3 separate regions of the Homo sapiens genome follow, and all the other regions are linked to region 2. The links are contacts of gene promoters, found by promoter capture Hi-C in blood cells and fetal thymus (Javierre and others, 2016). All regions are on one chromosome and are shown on one strand. Each heading gives the region's core, a stretch centred on a gene start or on the middle of the fragment in contact. The rest is flanking DNA. Distances are from core to core; before and after follow the strand shown.

Region 1 (2,700 bases), core at 9-2,508, 2.7 Mb after region 2:
CACGGCTTTGGGCAGCCGCCGAAGGCTCCTGCTAGGCCCGGCTGGCTCACCGGGAAGTTCCCTGCCTCCGTCCCGTCAGCCTCCAGGAGGGCGCCGCCGGCCGCCGTGACTTCAGCAAGGCACTACTATCTCCGTCAGCCGCCGCCTCGGCCATCTTCCTGCCCGGAGTGCAACAAAATCCGGCTCTGGCCAGCCTTCCAGCTGACGCCACTCTGCCAGGGCCCTGCAGCCTCGGAGCGGGATAGAAGGAAGCCGCAGAAAAGACGCTGAAAGTTGGCGCTCGCTGACGCCCCGACGCGCTCCCTCCATGACGCATGCGCCCACCGGCCGTGAGCGCGGGTCCGGTCTCCGGTGACGTGGCGGTGAGGAGGCGGAGCCAAGATCAGCGGCGGGAGGGTGGGGGAGGAAGAGCGAGGTGAGCGCGGACGTCAGAGTGGAGAGCGGAAGGTCAGGGAGGCTCGGAGCGGAAGTGAGACTAGGGAGTCTGTCCGCCATTGTGGACCCGAGAAGCAGAGAGCGAGAGGGGGAAGAGGAGCGTGCAAGCGGAAAAGACGGGCCTCTTCCTCCGACTCCCGAGCGCGAGGCCCTCATTTTGGGTTCTCAGCGAACGGCGGCAGCGGCGGCGGCTGGAACAATCACTCGGCCAAGGGCGACAGCCAACTGCTGTGAGTGCACGGGGAGAGGCCCAGGCAGCGGCGGCGGCGGCGGCTCTCGGGTTGCGGTGAAGAATGTCAGCCACTAGCGTGGATCAGGTGAGGGAGCAGAGGCCCCAGGCTTGGCGAAGGCCCGAGCCCCGGAGCTCCACCCTCGCGCGGGGCTTCGGCTCCTCCCCGTCGCCGCCGCTGCCGGCCCCATAACGGTGCCCCGGGCGCAAGTTGCTGCGGTGTAGCTACCCGGGCCGGGGCGTGCGCCCTGGCCCCGTAGCTTGCGGGCGGGCGGGCGCGGTGCCGCGGCGGGTGGGGGCAAGGACCGGTCTTAGGGGCCTTAGGACAGATCCTGAGGGCGGCAGACATGGGGCGGAGACCGGGCGAGCTCTGGGAGACGGATTCCGAGTGGCGGGTGGGAGGTTTAAAGGCTGGGGGTGGTTGGGAAATTGGTGGCTGTGGAGGATATGGTGGGTTTTTACTCCTACGCGGATAGTCTAAAATAACTTGTCTTTGATAATGCCTTTGATTAACACACTTTTTCTTTTCTTCCTTTTTCTCCTCTTTACCGCATCTTTCGTCTTGCAACACAGAGACCTAAAGGGCAAGGAAATAAAGGTGAGTTTGGATTTTTTTTTTTCTTATTGCTCAATGTTGCCTTAATGTTACTTTTAAACTCTGTGAGGGTATTTTGTTTGTTTTTGCTCCCTCTTGGGAAAAAATGTAGGATTAGGGAAAATATTCATCATGGCTAAGGTAGCCAAGTTCTATCCAGAACTTCGGTAGTTCGTTGCTTTGAAGCCACTTTATAGAAACCAAAGTAGTACGAGAAACAGTTTCCTTGTCAGTTAAGCAGGTATTGGTGTGAACCTGGTGGTATTTCTTTGGTTTTCCAGTTTTTCTGTGTTATGTAACTTATGCCACAAAAAATTTCTACATGTGTATATAGACAAGTATATTCTTAAAGTGGACATTTTGTTTGACATGTCTGGATTACACTGGAAAATGGAAGTCTACATAGTATTCCATCACATTAATGAAAATTGTACTGTTAATCACTGATTCTATTGAAGTCAGTTGTAATGAGGCAACAACATGAGAGAGGTTAGAACTGAGTAGGCATGCCATCTTGCTCTATTGTTCTGATTGCAAGGTGTGACTCTATCTGGTATTTTATAAAGGGCTGAGAAGAAAATAGTTTGTGACATTTTTTCCAGGATTTTATAATTTTCTCTTTAGTAAAAGTACCATTGAAAGTAAAGTGTTTTTTTAAAAAGTGTGTTTTGTATTAATATGGAACAGTGCAGTCAGCTGACTGAAACATTATGACATTAGTCATGTGACATTTAGTTAAGTATAGAACAATAACTGCTTTCTTGGGATAGTGCCAATTAAATAACATCAGAGCAAATTATATATAACATTTTGTAGTGCTTGAAATTACACTAAAATTATGCTTTCTGTTGATTTCAGTAACACAGTGTTAGAAATTAAGATCTATAATAGCCTTTTAGATATAGATTGTCTTTGGTGCCCTTTAAATTCTTGTTAGGGTATTTATTTGCTATTGCAAATTTGGTGAATTTAATAGGTTTTGGATATGTAGATTAGTTTCCTCTGAATTATGGAATTTGTACATACCAGTTACATGGCACCATATTAGGTAACATTTTGTTTGTTTTCATTAAAGATGTTTTCTTGCAGTATGTAAATATTTAGACATTTTAATTTTTAAAATTTCATTTCTAGAATTTTTTTTGTTGTAAGCATAAACCTGAAATAAAAATTGGATATTGATTTATTTTAAATGAGTTTTTAAAAATTTGTGAATTTTAAAAAGAATGATCCATTAATTTCTTCTTTTGCTAGTCTACCCATTAGGAACTATGTAGACTTGGAGATTGTGAAATTGTGGTCATTATTGCCTAGCATAAATTATTTTATCCTAGATCTGTGGGGAGGTGGCACTTTGCAAAGCTATTTGAAATGCTAAGTGTTTTATGTTACCCGCTTTAAGGTAAGTACACAAGTTCTATGAGGTACTTGTTTGTTAAAA
Region 2 (2,700 bases), core at 128-2,627:
ATCATAATCTCTAAGTAACCTTTCCTGACACCCTATTCTCCACCTCCTCTTCCATAACCTGTGGTCTTTTTGAACAGAGTGGTGACATTTTGGGCTGGATGACTGAAAAAGCAAAGTAGAAAAACAGAACATAGAACATACAGGGCCTCCAGTTGCTGTGCCTGGCGGTACATGAAACATAGTATTCAATAACTATTCTTTGAATGCACAGTCATTTTGTTTTTTCCTTTAACAGTATTTCCTAATAGGTAACTCATGAACACTGCAAAAAATGTCAAACTGCACAAAAAAATTCAGGGAAAAGTACATTTTCCCCCCAATCCCATTCCCTCCTTTCTCTTAATACCAGTTAGCTTTCCTTTCAGATTGATTATGCATATATGGGTATGTAAATGTTTTCCCACTATTTGTTACACATAAAAATTATATACAATTCATATATTACATATGGTGCATGTTATATACACACACATAAACAGATCATCTCGGTTTTGCTTAACCTAAGTCAGGCTTTTTTTTTTTTTTTTTTTTTAGAGCAGCCCTCAGAACCAGGACAGGTTCAGAGACTTTATTTATTTTTTATTTACTATTATTATTTTGAGACGGAGTCCCGCTCTGTCGCCCAGTCTGGAGTGCCGTGGTTCAATCTCGGCTCACTACAACCTCCACCTCCCAGGTTCAAGTGATTCTCCTGCCTTAGACTCCGAGTAGCTGGGATTACAGGCGAGCACCACCACGCCCGGCTAATGTATTTTTAGTAGAGACGCGGTTTCGCCATGTTGGCCAGGCTGGTCTCGAACTCCTGACCTCAGGTGAGAGCAACGTAGTACTCCACTGTGCGTGCATACCATGATTTACTTTGCAGTCCCAGATTTACGGTTTCCAATTTATAAATACTGCCATTTTCACCTTCAAGCCCCGATGCCAAACACAGAAATACCAGGCCACCCCCACCCCCTCGCCGTGTGCCTCCCACATTTTCACACACATTTTCAGGAGCCCAGGGCGCAGCCTCACACCGAACGCCGCCTCTGCCGTCCCCTCACTTGCCCCGTGCCCCCACCGCAGGGCTGAAGGCGACGGAACCGAGCCTTTGTACCCCCACCAGCCCCGTTCCCTGGCGTCTCCCGGCCGCCGGGCTCGCCCGCTCAAACGTGGCGGAACAACCGGAGCCGGGCCCCGCCCTGCTGGAAGACAGGGCGGACCGGGCAAGGCAGGCGCGGGGCGGGGCGGGGCGGGGCTCCGGCTGGCGGGGCGCGGCCAGCGTGCAGGGCTGGGCCAGCGTGCGGGGCTCCTCCCCTTTCCTCCGGCGGCGCCGGCGGCCGCAGAACTTCCGGGTCGGCGCGGAGGCGGGGCGGAGGCGCCGCGGCGGCTGTTATTGTTCGGCTGGGCTCGGTCGGGCGCTGTCTCCCTCGGCTCTGCGGGTGTCAGTTCGTCCGGCTTCCTCACAGCCCCTCACTCCCGGCGGCTGACAGCAGCAGCGGCGGCGGCGGGCGGCGCCTGGCGTTTCGAGGCTGAGCGGCACCGGGGTTGGGGCGCGGAGGAGGAGCAGCAGCGGGAGGAGGAGCCGTGTGCCCTGGCACTGAGCGGCCGCGGCCATGGCGTACGCCTATCTCTTCAAGTACATCATAATCGGCGACACAGGTGAGGGCCCCGGGCGCGGCCGGGCGGGTGTCGGCGGCCTCCGGACCCGGGCTGAGGGGCAAACGGCGTCTGGCGGTGGCGGGGACGCGGACTCCACCCGGCGCCTCCCTCCTGGCCGCGCCGCTCCATTTCCGCAGTGCTGGAGCTGGTGACGTGGGCACTGCGAGCGGCCGCGGCCTGGCCAGGCCCGGTCTGCGGCCCCCGACCCGGCCAGTCTTGCAGCTGAGGGCCGTGGCAGCCGTTTGCGACGCCCGATTCAGGAAGTGTGTGACAGGAGGGGAGGCCTAGCGCAGGGCCGCCGGGGCCCGACTCACATGACTGCACCCCACCCCCAGGGCCCCTTGCGTTAGGTCTCTTCGCGGCCCCAGGAAAAAGAAGGAGGGAAACCTAGGGGAGCAGAAGGTGTTGGGGCCCGGGTCTTGGTTCCTGACCAGTCCAACCTTCCTCCACCAGCACGCATCTATCAAGGCCTGGGCAAGGCGCTTTTTGGCGTGGGACAGGCAGCCGAGAAAGAGAAAAGGAAACCTTTAAAATATGTATTTTATATATATACATATATATAAAATATGCTTTTTTAACACCTTCAACTCTCACGTCAGAATAAGTCACATCTCATTACTTGACGGCTGGAGAATCCCTTTCGGGGTTAGGAAAGCATGAACGAGTTCTGTGGACTTTTGCCACGTGTGAACTGGGGTTATATAGTAATGTAAAGTCGTTCAGTGCTCTGGGTGTGTACTTAGGTATGTGTATGTTGAGGACGCTGATGTTTTAGATATGTCAAGTCCGGTGTCACAACTGCTAATTTTCAGGTGAGCTCATGTCCATGAGCTGAAAGAAATTCAGTTATTCTCACTTAAAATGACGTCCTAGTATATTTCACAGAAAAGTAAACAGACTCTTCGTAGATATTTTTAATACCTGTGATTTGGCATTACTTTGAATCTAATAATAAACATAAAGATTGTTTAGATGTTGCAACTATTAATATACCAGAGTCTGATTTCAGTGGTTACTCTTGCACAACTTTGGACCCTTTGCACAACTTCGGTCATG
Region 3 (2,700 bases), core at 14-2,513, 2.1 Mb before region 2:
TTGTGACCCCCAAACCAAATACATGCAGTGCTTTGTGATCAAACCCAGACACAAAGGAGCAAAATATTTCTGTTGCCCCATGAGCACATTCCCAGCTGAGCTCAAACAAGGTGACATTCTGCCTTTTTATTTCAGCTTTTATACTTTAAATAAGTGTCCTTGCACATTCTATTTAGTGCCATGTTTTTCACATGTTTGTGCTTTTTGTTGGTGATTTTGCTGTTTGAGATGGCCCCCAAGGGTAGTGCTGAAGTACTGTCTGGTGTTCCTAAGTACAAGAGGCTGTGATGTCCTTATGGAGAAAATGCATGTGCTAGATAAACTTCCTTCATGCAGGAGTTATAGTGCTGGTGGCTGTGAGTTCAATGTGAGTGGATCAATGATCATATTAAACATGGGGTCTTCAACAGAAATAGACATAAAACAAGGTTATGCATTGATCAGTTGATGAAAATGTAAGAAGTTCACAGGAACCTACCCTGTATTTTCCCTAGCAGCAATGATTCAGTATTCAATAACTCAGTGTTCTCAATGGCTTTAAGGAACATAACTACTGTAAATAATGAGAATTGACTGTGTGTAAATAGTAGGTATGAGAACAGAAGATATTGAACAGCGAAAGCATATACACAGTGAGCAAATAAGAGTGGCAAAGGCAGAGCCCTAAAGAACATCATTATTTAGAGGGTGGATAGAAGATAAAATGTTAGGAGAAGCTCAAAAGGAATGGTCAGGTAGGTAAGAAGACCAATGTTAAGCAGTATCATGAGGAAATTTCAGGAAAGGTAAAATCACAAGAGTCAGAGGCTGCAAAAAGCTCCCAGGAGACACGGAGATGGTATTTTTTAACCAAAAACACAAACAAAAAAAAAAACATATGCTTTTGAGTGTAATGGACCTGAATTTAAAATTTAGTTCTGCTACTTAATAGCTGAGTGACATAAGGAAATTCATCTTATTTCTCTGATCCTCAACTACTTCTGTAAGATGGAGACAATACCTATCCCAGAAAGTTGTTGTAGATTACATGAAATAATGTGCAATCCATGAAAATTACCAACTGTAAATATTCTATTTCTATTTTTAGAATGAGATAAAAATGTTTTAAAGGATGGAACAAGGCCATTATATATTACAGTGACCTCTGATCTTGTTCTCAGTGATGTCCAGCATATGTAAAATTACACAAACGTGAGTTTCATTTAGGTTGTGAAGTTGGAGCTGGATTTGGTTTAGAAGTGCAATATAAATAGGCCTGCATTTTATACTGTCTGTCCTGTCTGTATCTAATGAAGATATCTGTTGATAGATCTTCTTATTTCTTGACTTTCCATGAATGGAAAATGGGCTTTGGAGATAGTCAAATGTGGTTTGAGTTATGGATCTGATATGGTTTGGATCTGTGCCCCCACCCAAATCTCAGGTTGAAATGTAATCTCCTGTGCTAGAGGTGGGCCCTGGTGGGAGGTGATTGGATAACAGGGGCTGCTTCTAATGGTTTAGCACTATCCCCCCAGTGCTGTTCTTGTGATAGAGTTCTCACAAGATCTGTTTGTTTAAAAGTGTGTGGCACCTCCCCACACTTCCTCCTGCTCCAGACATGTAAGATGTACCTGCTTCTCTTCCCCTTTGCCTTCTGCCATGATTATAACTTTCCTGAGGCCTCTAGAAGCCAAGCAGAAGCTGTTCTGCTACCTCTATAGCCTGCAGAACAATGAGCCATTTAGCCCCTTTTCTTTATAAATTATCCAGTCTCGGATATTTCTTTATAGCAGCACAAGAACAGACCAATACAGGATCCCTACCACCTTCATTCACTCACTCATGCAAATAGTTATTAAAAGTACATATTATGGTTCCAGGTTCTGTGTTAAGGCACTAGAGATGAAGTCCTGGCCCACATACTCCATGAGCTTAGTCTAATGGAAGGAGAAAATAAGTATAATAAAATGTTTAACATTAAGTTTCCAGTTTAAGGACCCCATAATATATATGATAGGTCAAAATGGGTGTGAGAAAGATGCTCCTGGAGAATGTTTCAAAGACGATGAATGTCATGATTCTTGAACCTCCTCACCCACTTTGAGAACAGAAAATAGAGAATCAAGGAGAGTGAGGTATGTGGTCGTAGTTCTTTGAAGAAGAATGGGGAAAGATATCACTTTCATCACAAGCCAAAAGAAAGGAGACTTCAAGGCGACCACTTGAATGTTTGTTGATATTTTTGTTCACATTAACAAGATACACATAAGATGCAAGTGAAACACAAACACCCATAGTAACTCAACAACGTGAGCAACTTCTTCCGGAATCAGCTAGTAATTTTCAAATACTAGAGGAAAATTTACATTTTTTTTCTTTTGCTATTCACAGCATAACAGCTGCAGGCACAGCATACTTTTAAGTCTTATCTGCCTCGTAAACATTTTCTCCAACAGATCCTTAAATCTCCAGTGGGCAATCAACAAAACAAGAAATCGAACTTTTATTTATGGCGTTTACCAATTTCTGAGGTGGGAATACTTACACCATGGTAGATTTCAAGCTACTAACATGTTGTCACTGAATGCGAATTGGGAAGAGGTGTGCAATAGCATCTCCACCATATAGATCCAATAGATGTAAATCCCCTCAGGAGCATAGATAATAGCAAAATGTATTCAAATAACTAGGAAATTAGAGATTTGAATATTTATTGCA

What was found. Contacts are between HindIII fragments. The CHiCAGO score rates a contact against its expected background, and 5 or more counts as called.
Region 1: a fragment that was not itself captured here is called in contact with the fragment with the promoter of RAB2A in region 2 in 11 of 17 cell types (non-activated CD4 T cells, naive CD4 T cells, naive CD8 T cells and 8 more); the score reaches 16.8 in non-activated CD4 T cells.
Region 3: a fragment that was not itself captured here is called in contact with the fragment with the promoter of RAB2A in region 2 in 3 of 17 cell types (total CD8 T cells, non-activated CD4 T cells and total CD4 T cells); the score reaches 6.9 in total CD8 T cells.

The regions. Positions count from the first base shown.
Region 1 is chr8:63,168,150-63,170,849 of GRCh38, forward strand. It overlaps YTHDF3 (YTH N6-methyladenosine RNA binding protein F3), which reads left to right and starts at 472. Exons shown (of 5, transcript NM_152758.6): 1 at 472-752; 2 at 1,238-1,262. The coding sequence starts at 729. It overlaps YTHDF3-DT (YTHDF3 divergent transcript), which reads right to left and starts at 293. Exons shown (of 1, transcript NR_102684.1): 1 at 1-293. RefSeq lists enhancers at 15-234, 435-754 and a silencer at 835-1,074. The HindIII fragment of the contact is 4,463 bases long and covers 1-2,700 here.
Region 2 is chr8:60,515,610-60,518,309 of GRCh38, forward strand. It overlaps RAB2A (RAB2A, member RAS oncogene family), which reads left to right and starts at 1,378. Exons shown (of 8, transcript NM_002865.3): 1 at 1,378-1,644. The coding sequence starts at 1,599. It overlaps LOC124901949 (a long non-coding RNA gene), which reads left to right. Exons shown (of 3, transcript XR_007060922.1): 3 at 1-1,189. RefSeq lists enhancers at 526-1,386, 2,622-2,700 and a silencer at 962-1,831. The HindIII fragment of the contact is 4,226 bases long and covers 1-2,700 here.
Region 3 is chr8:58,403,800-58,406,499 of GRCh38, forward strand. No RefSeq gene overlaps it. Among named protein-coding and RNA genes, the nearest start is that of UBXN2B, 6.2 kb to the right of the region's middle. The HindIII fragment of the contact is 3,704 bases long and covers 1-2,700 here.